Linked DNA regions of Homo sapiens: region 2 is linked to region 1. The links are contacts of gene promoters, found by promoter capture Hi-C in blood cells and fetal thymus (Javierre and others, 2016). All regions are on one chromosome and are shown on one strand. The core of a region is centred on a gene start or on the middle of the fragment in contact, and the rest is flanking DNA. Distances in the headings are between cores, read along the strand shown.

Region 1 (2,875 bases), core at 169-2,668:
TCACCTTATCAGAGAGAGCAGTTGAGTTCATATTACCTGATCTCCACACTTACCAAGCAGACACACATTATGCAAGGGTTGTCTGTGATAAATGGAATCTGGAGGACTTCACCTTCATTTTCACATTTTGCAACAGAACCTGAAATTCAGGGGGGAAAAATGTTTCATTTAAAGTTAGCTTAGCAGCATGATTTCAACATTTAAAATTTTTACACTAATCCTTTTTGAAACCTCTACCCAAACTTCAGAATTCTTAATGTGGTTTAAATTATTAAATTCACCAAAGCAAAACCTCTGCCCCCAACTCCATTTTCAATAATTTTATTTAAACAGGTTCAAAAAAGAAAAGACTATGATATAGGGATAAATTATCTGTTCTCAGATGGTCTAAGCACAATTCCAAGTATTTCACTGGATTTTTAATAACACTCCTCCTTTATGAAGATATTTCAACTAAGCACACAGCCCCATACGCAAAGAAAAAAATAAAAAATAAAATTTAAAAAAACCCTCAAATTGGGGCAGATTTTAAATTGACCAAAACTCAGAACTGAGTCAATAAACAGGCCTTTCTATGAATCTGTCTCGCATTGTCTTAGGTTTAAATCACTTTTTGAAACGCAATCCCCTTTTCCCTTCTCTTAGAAATTGACTCCATATTTTCTTTTCTGCACCAGGTGTCAGTAAAGTATGTCCTTCAGAATAGCAGCTGAGGTCTTCACCTGCCTGAAAACATATAATTATTATATCCGGCTATTAGTGCCCTTTTTAAATGATAGTTTCTTTAAATTCAAGGTCTTGAGAGCCAGTGCTTTAAAAAGCACTCCTAGCACAGTGGATGTATTGCAACCCCAAAGATGAGAAAGGAAGATGTGCGGAAAACTGCACAAATTTTTTTCCTGAGTTCTACAGAGGGAAAGATTAAAATAAAAGTTGAGGAAAGCATTAAAAATAAATAAAATAATTTCTCAAATTCAAATAGAAGAATGTCTATTATTACTACATTGAAGGCAACAGCCTCTCAGCCCGCAACCTCTTCACCAGCCTTCCCAGCCCTCCCGGGGCTTCGCTTCATCCCCATCGACCAGCGCAGGGCAAGCGCCAAGGTGCGCGCTCCCCACCCTCCCATCCCCGGGGCAAGCCAGCGCCACCTTTCCCAGGTACCAAACCGGCGTCCCGGAGGGCCGGTCCCTCCCGCCCCCTCCCCTACCTGTCAAGAAGGAGGAAGCCAGAGACATGGGGACCCCCGAGCAATTGAGTAGCAGCAAGACGCAGCACGTAATCCCAGGCGAGCGGCGGCAGTAACGCTCAGCCAGAGCCCCGACGCCGGAGAACCAGAGCATCGTCACCTGGAGGGAATCCCTGGCGACTGCAGGTCCCGCGCCGCCGCCTCTGCTCAGCTGCCGCAGCTCACAGTCGAAAAGGGCTCTCAGCCGGCGTGTCGGGAGACCGTCCGCGAAGGAGGGAGGCGGGCGCCCGAGAGCTGGGGGGCGGGGGGGTGTGAGGGAGGGCGGGGGGAGAGACCAAGGTGTGGGGGCGCCCGGGGAGGAGGGGTCCTGCGGCCAGGCTCCTCCGATGCGGCTTTTTTTTTTTTTTTCCTGAGGGAGTTGCTTGCAGTGGCTTAGCAGTCAGCCCCTCAGCGCCGGAGAGGGGGCCAGGAGGAAGGGGTGTTGCGGCAGCCGGAGATAGACTGAGAGGAGCTGCGGCGCTGCCGACTGCGCACTGCCGCTCAGCCGCCGCCCGGGCTGCCGCTACTGTTTCGGGGGCTGTCGCTGTCGCTGCCGCAGCGTCCTCCACTCCCGCACTCCTCACCTCCTGCCAGCCCCGCCGGCTCTCGGCCCTCCCGGAGCGCGCTCGCTCCGCCGCAACAGACGTGGGCTCACCGGGCGCCTCCCGGAACCCGCTGGGGGCGCCCGGGCGCAGGAGGGACTGCGCGATAGCTGCAGCGGGAACTCTCTCGGCCCAGCTTCCAGTTCCCCAGCCCCTCCAGGGAGGCCAGGGCCCCAGGGCGCGGACCAGAGCCGAGAAGGCGCGTCTCCACTGTCCGGGCGAGCGCGGCTCCTCCTCCCTTTCTTGGGGGAGCCCCGGGGATGCCGCAGCACTAGCGCTCAGGCCCGGGTGCCCCAATCCAGCGAGGGAGCAGCAAACGGGACGCAGGGGCGCCCCACCACCCTGCTCGCTCCCGGGTGCCCCACCTTTGGGAAGGAGCGACACACCCGGGGCAGTAGGGCCCCCGCAACTTTTCATGCCCTGCTTTGCTTCCCTCTGGCGGGGGCGCGACAGCGAACTCAGGGGGCTGAGCGGACAGAGGGGCAAGTGGCCTTAGAGATGTGTTCTGTGCTTAGCTGTCTGCGCGTCCTGACACTAGGGATGACCGAAGTTGAAACACACACAAGGTCGATTTAAAAACGTACCGAGGCAAACGCCTTTCGTCCTTAAAAAATGAACAGTCGCTCCGAGACTCCTCCCTTCCAATCTCGGGCGGACCGGGGCGGGGAGGTGGTGTTTGACTAATCATTCATTCACCCGAAAAGAGGGAGGAACCCCCGCCCCACCGCTCATCTCTGGCGGGGGCCGCCGCGCGGCGGCCTCTGCAGCTCGGAGCTCCGTCGCTCTCTCAGCCCGGCTGCGCCCTCTCGCCTCTGCAGCACTGGGTGTCGGGGAGTCAGCTCCTGTGATCCCCCTGCTGAATCGCCGCCTCCTCCCCACGCAGTGGCACCCTCTACTCAAAAGGGGTGCAATCGCAGAGAGATGATTTTTGTAACCAAAGTACGAAGGCGCGAGGTGGGAGTGAGGGACGCTTGGCAAGTGTTGGGACCTGACGATCAGCTAGCTGTCCTTGAGCTCACGGTGGACTACCGACTTCCTCTGTCCA
Region 2 (2,759 bases), core at 55-2,554, 1.1 Mb after region 1:
GTTCTGTCATGTGTACAGTGGAATTTTCCAGAGGTTACATGGCATGTTATAATGCAACAGATTAAGTGCAGAGGGAGATTAAAATACTCTTTTTTTTGCTAACTACATATTTGTGAGGACTGATTTTCCTTATATATTTCCATCAAAACAGCATATTGCAACAGATTGAATGCAGAAGATATGAAAATCTGTCTTCTATTAAGTCAAACTTAAAGAGATTTGCATAAAGTTAAAACAATGTCACTTTTCTCACTAAATTTTTGTTGAAAATAGTTATTTTCATATAAAAGATATTTCTGTTAATATAGTGAGTTTATTATTGTTATTTGTAAATGATTTATAAACAAATATTTTTTCATTTTAAAGTTTTAACATGAATGGATTATAAATATCCATGTAAATATCAATGCATACAATACACTTAAGCAATCATAAAGGACTTGTTTGGTCTTTTTGAGGCCAAAATATTTAAGAATGGCTGCTCTAGAGTGCTTTGATAAGGGATCACATCAGCATGTTGGTATAGCCCTCAAAACACCTCTGCAGAGGTGTCCTTCCTTGTTCCAAGACATCACATCAACACATGGCCATATTTCCCAACTTGGCTCTCATTTGGACATTTATATGCATACATAACCACATTAGATTAAAGTCTATCTTTATGTGAAAAAAATGCATTTAATCTCTAGTGGAAAGAGGAAGAATTAGAGATGTCTTGAGTTTACCAGCAGATATCTAGATGGTTAGAAGAAGTGATAAAGTTGGACTCTTAGGAGGTAACATTCGTATTCCAGTTGGACCAGGGGAAAACATTTAGATGTAAGCAAAGGAGGCCTACACAGTTCCTGGCCATGAGGTACGTGAGCTCTGACCCCCTGGGATGCTCCTAATTACCATCCCATTGAAGAGTTGCACCAGAGCCACCTGGATAAATCACCTGGGTGAGTTGCTGTAAATACAGATTTCCATGTTCTACTCAGAACCCAGTAAGTCAGAATCGAGGTTGGGGGTTCAGAAATCTGGATAAAAAATAAATTCCTTGAGTGATTCATGATGCAGCCAGGCTTGAGAACATTGGATTGGCCTCCTTAAAGTCTGTCAGATAGTTATGATGATGTTTGAGTTACACTGTTTGCCACAAATAGCTCTTCCAGTTGCCTACCATGGGCCCAAAGTCCCAAGCTTTGGTGATGAGTTCTTTGGGGTTAGAGCAGCAATATCTCCAGTGTTCCCTATATAGAGGATGAATCTTCTCCTGAGGAATGCTGTGTTCAGCTGTGCTCTGGGGCTAACATCACCGCATAGTGGGGTATTATGCACTTGAGATCTCCACCCTGGGGGACAAGGAAGGGCAGAAAGAATGAAAACAAGCAGGAGGAGACTCTTTGGATGAATATTGAAGTGGGAAACCAGGAGCAAAAGCTTAAGGATTCCAGGTCCCCTTGGCAGGCAAGAAGAGAACAGAAGATGGATATTGATTTCTTCTGAACTGACTCACAATGCTCTGTGGAGGAGCCAAGTCGTTTCTGCAAACTTTGAAAAATGTTGGCATCAGTGTTCCTGCTATCACTGGATGCTAGTCATAGATGATGGCTGTGAACACAGAGAAGGATCTTTCAGCTGTCTCTGCTGTTTTCTGTATGTAACCGAGACCCAGTTGATCACCTCCCTGTTTCTAGTCTGGCTCCCTTCTCTGCACTGCTTCCAAAATAACCTGAACACCCTTGAACCTGCCAGCTAGAGCAAAAAAGAGACTCTGCCAGCCCCTCTCTGTACATCTCCTCCCTCTCCCCACAAAGATATTTCAATCTGGACTCTTACAAAAAGTGATTTCCTGCTTTGCTTTAGAGTTTTATCACTGATATGGTTTGGCTCTGTGTCCCCACCCAAATCTCATCTTGTAGCTCCCATAATTCCCACGTGTTGTGGAAGGGACCCAGTGGGAGATGACTGAATCATGGGGATGGGTCTTTCCTGTACTGTTCTTGTGATAGTGAATGGGTCTCACAAGATCTGATGGTTTTAAAAATGGGAGTTTCTCTGCACAAGGTTGCTCTTTGACTGCTGCCATCCATGTAAGATGTGACTTGCTCCTCCTTGCCTTCTGCCATGATTGTGAAGCCTCCCCAGCCATGTGGAACTGTAAGTCCAATAAACCTCTTTCTTTTGTAAATTGCCCAGTCTTGGGTATGTCTTTATCAGCAGTGTGAAAAATGGACTAATACAATTACCTATGTGTGCATTGCCAAATATGATAATTTAATTTTGGCTAGTTTTGAATTTCATATAAATGAGATCATATGATATCTTTAATGTCTCTGTCTTTGACCTTTATATTATGTTTTTAGAAGTTTTTTTATGTTGCTGCAAGCATATGCAGTTTCTTCATTTTTTTTTGTTGCTGTAAAGTATTCCATTGTATGAAATATACCATAGTTTATTTATCTATTCTACTGCTAATGGGCATTTGTTTTGCCTCCAATTTGAGGCTCTTATAATTAGTGCTATTAAGAATATTTTTTCATATCTATTATGGTGTATATCAGTCTGATAGTCTTTGATTATTAACTGGGGCATTTAATCTCTTTGCACTTATAATTACTAATAAGTTTGGATAAAAAAACCACCATCTTCCTATGTGTTTTCTGTTTATCCTAGCTGTTTTATGTCCCTGTTTCTCTCTTTTCTTGCTTTCTTTCAAATTGTTTGAGTGACTTGTCACTCAGCTTTCCTTCTCTTTTAGTCTGAAAGATATGTAT

The links. Contacts are between HindIII fragments. The CHiCAGO score rates a contact against its expected background, and 5 or more counts as called.
Region 2: a fragment that was not itself captured here is called in contact with the fragment with the promoter of BMPER in region 1 in 4 of 17 cell types (non-activated CD4 T cells, naive B cells, M2 macrophages and 1 more); the score reaches 8.1 in non-activated CD4 T cells.

The regions. Positions count from the first base shown.
Region 1 is chr7:33,904,082-33,906,956 of GRCh38, reverse strand. BMPER (BMP binding endothelial regulator) reads right to left here and starts at 1,418. Exons shown (of 15, transcript NM_001365308.1): 1 at 1,211-1,418; 2 at 54-139. The coding sequence starts at 1,343. The HindIII fragment of the contact is 6,002 bases long and covers 1-2,875 here.
Region 2 is chr7:32,767,834-32,770,592 of GRCh38, reverse strand. No RefSeq gene overlaps it. Among named protein-coding and RNA genes, the nearest start is that of LINC00997, 11 kb to the right of the region's middle. The HindIII fragment of the contact is 240 bases long and covers 1,185-1,424 here.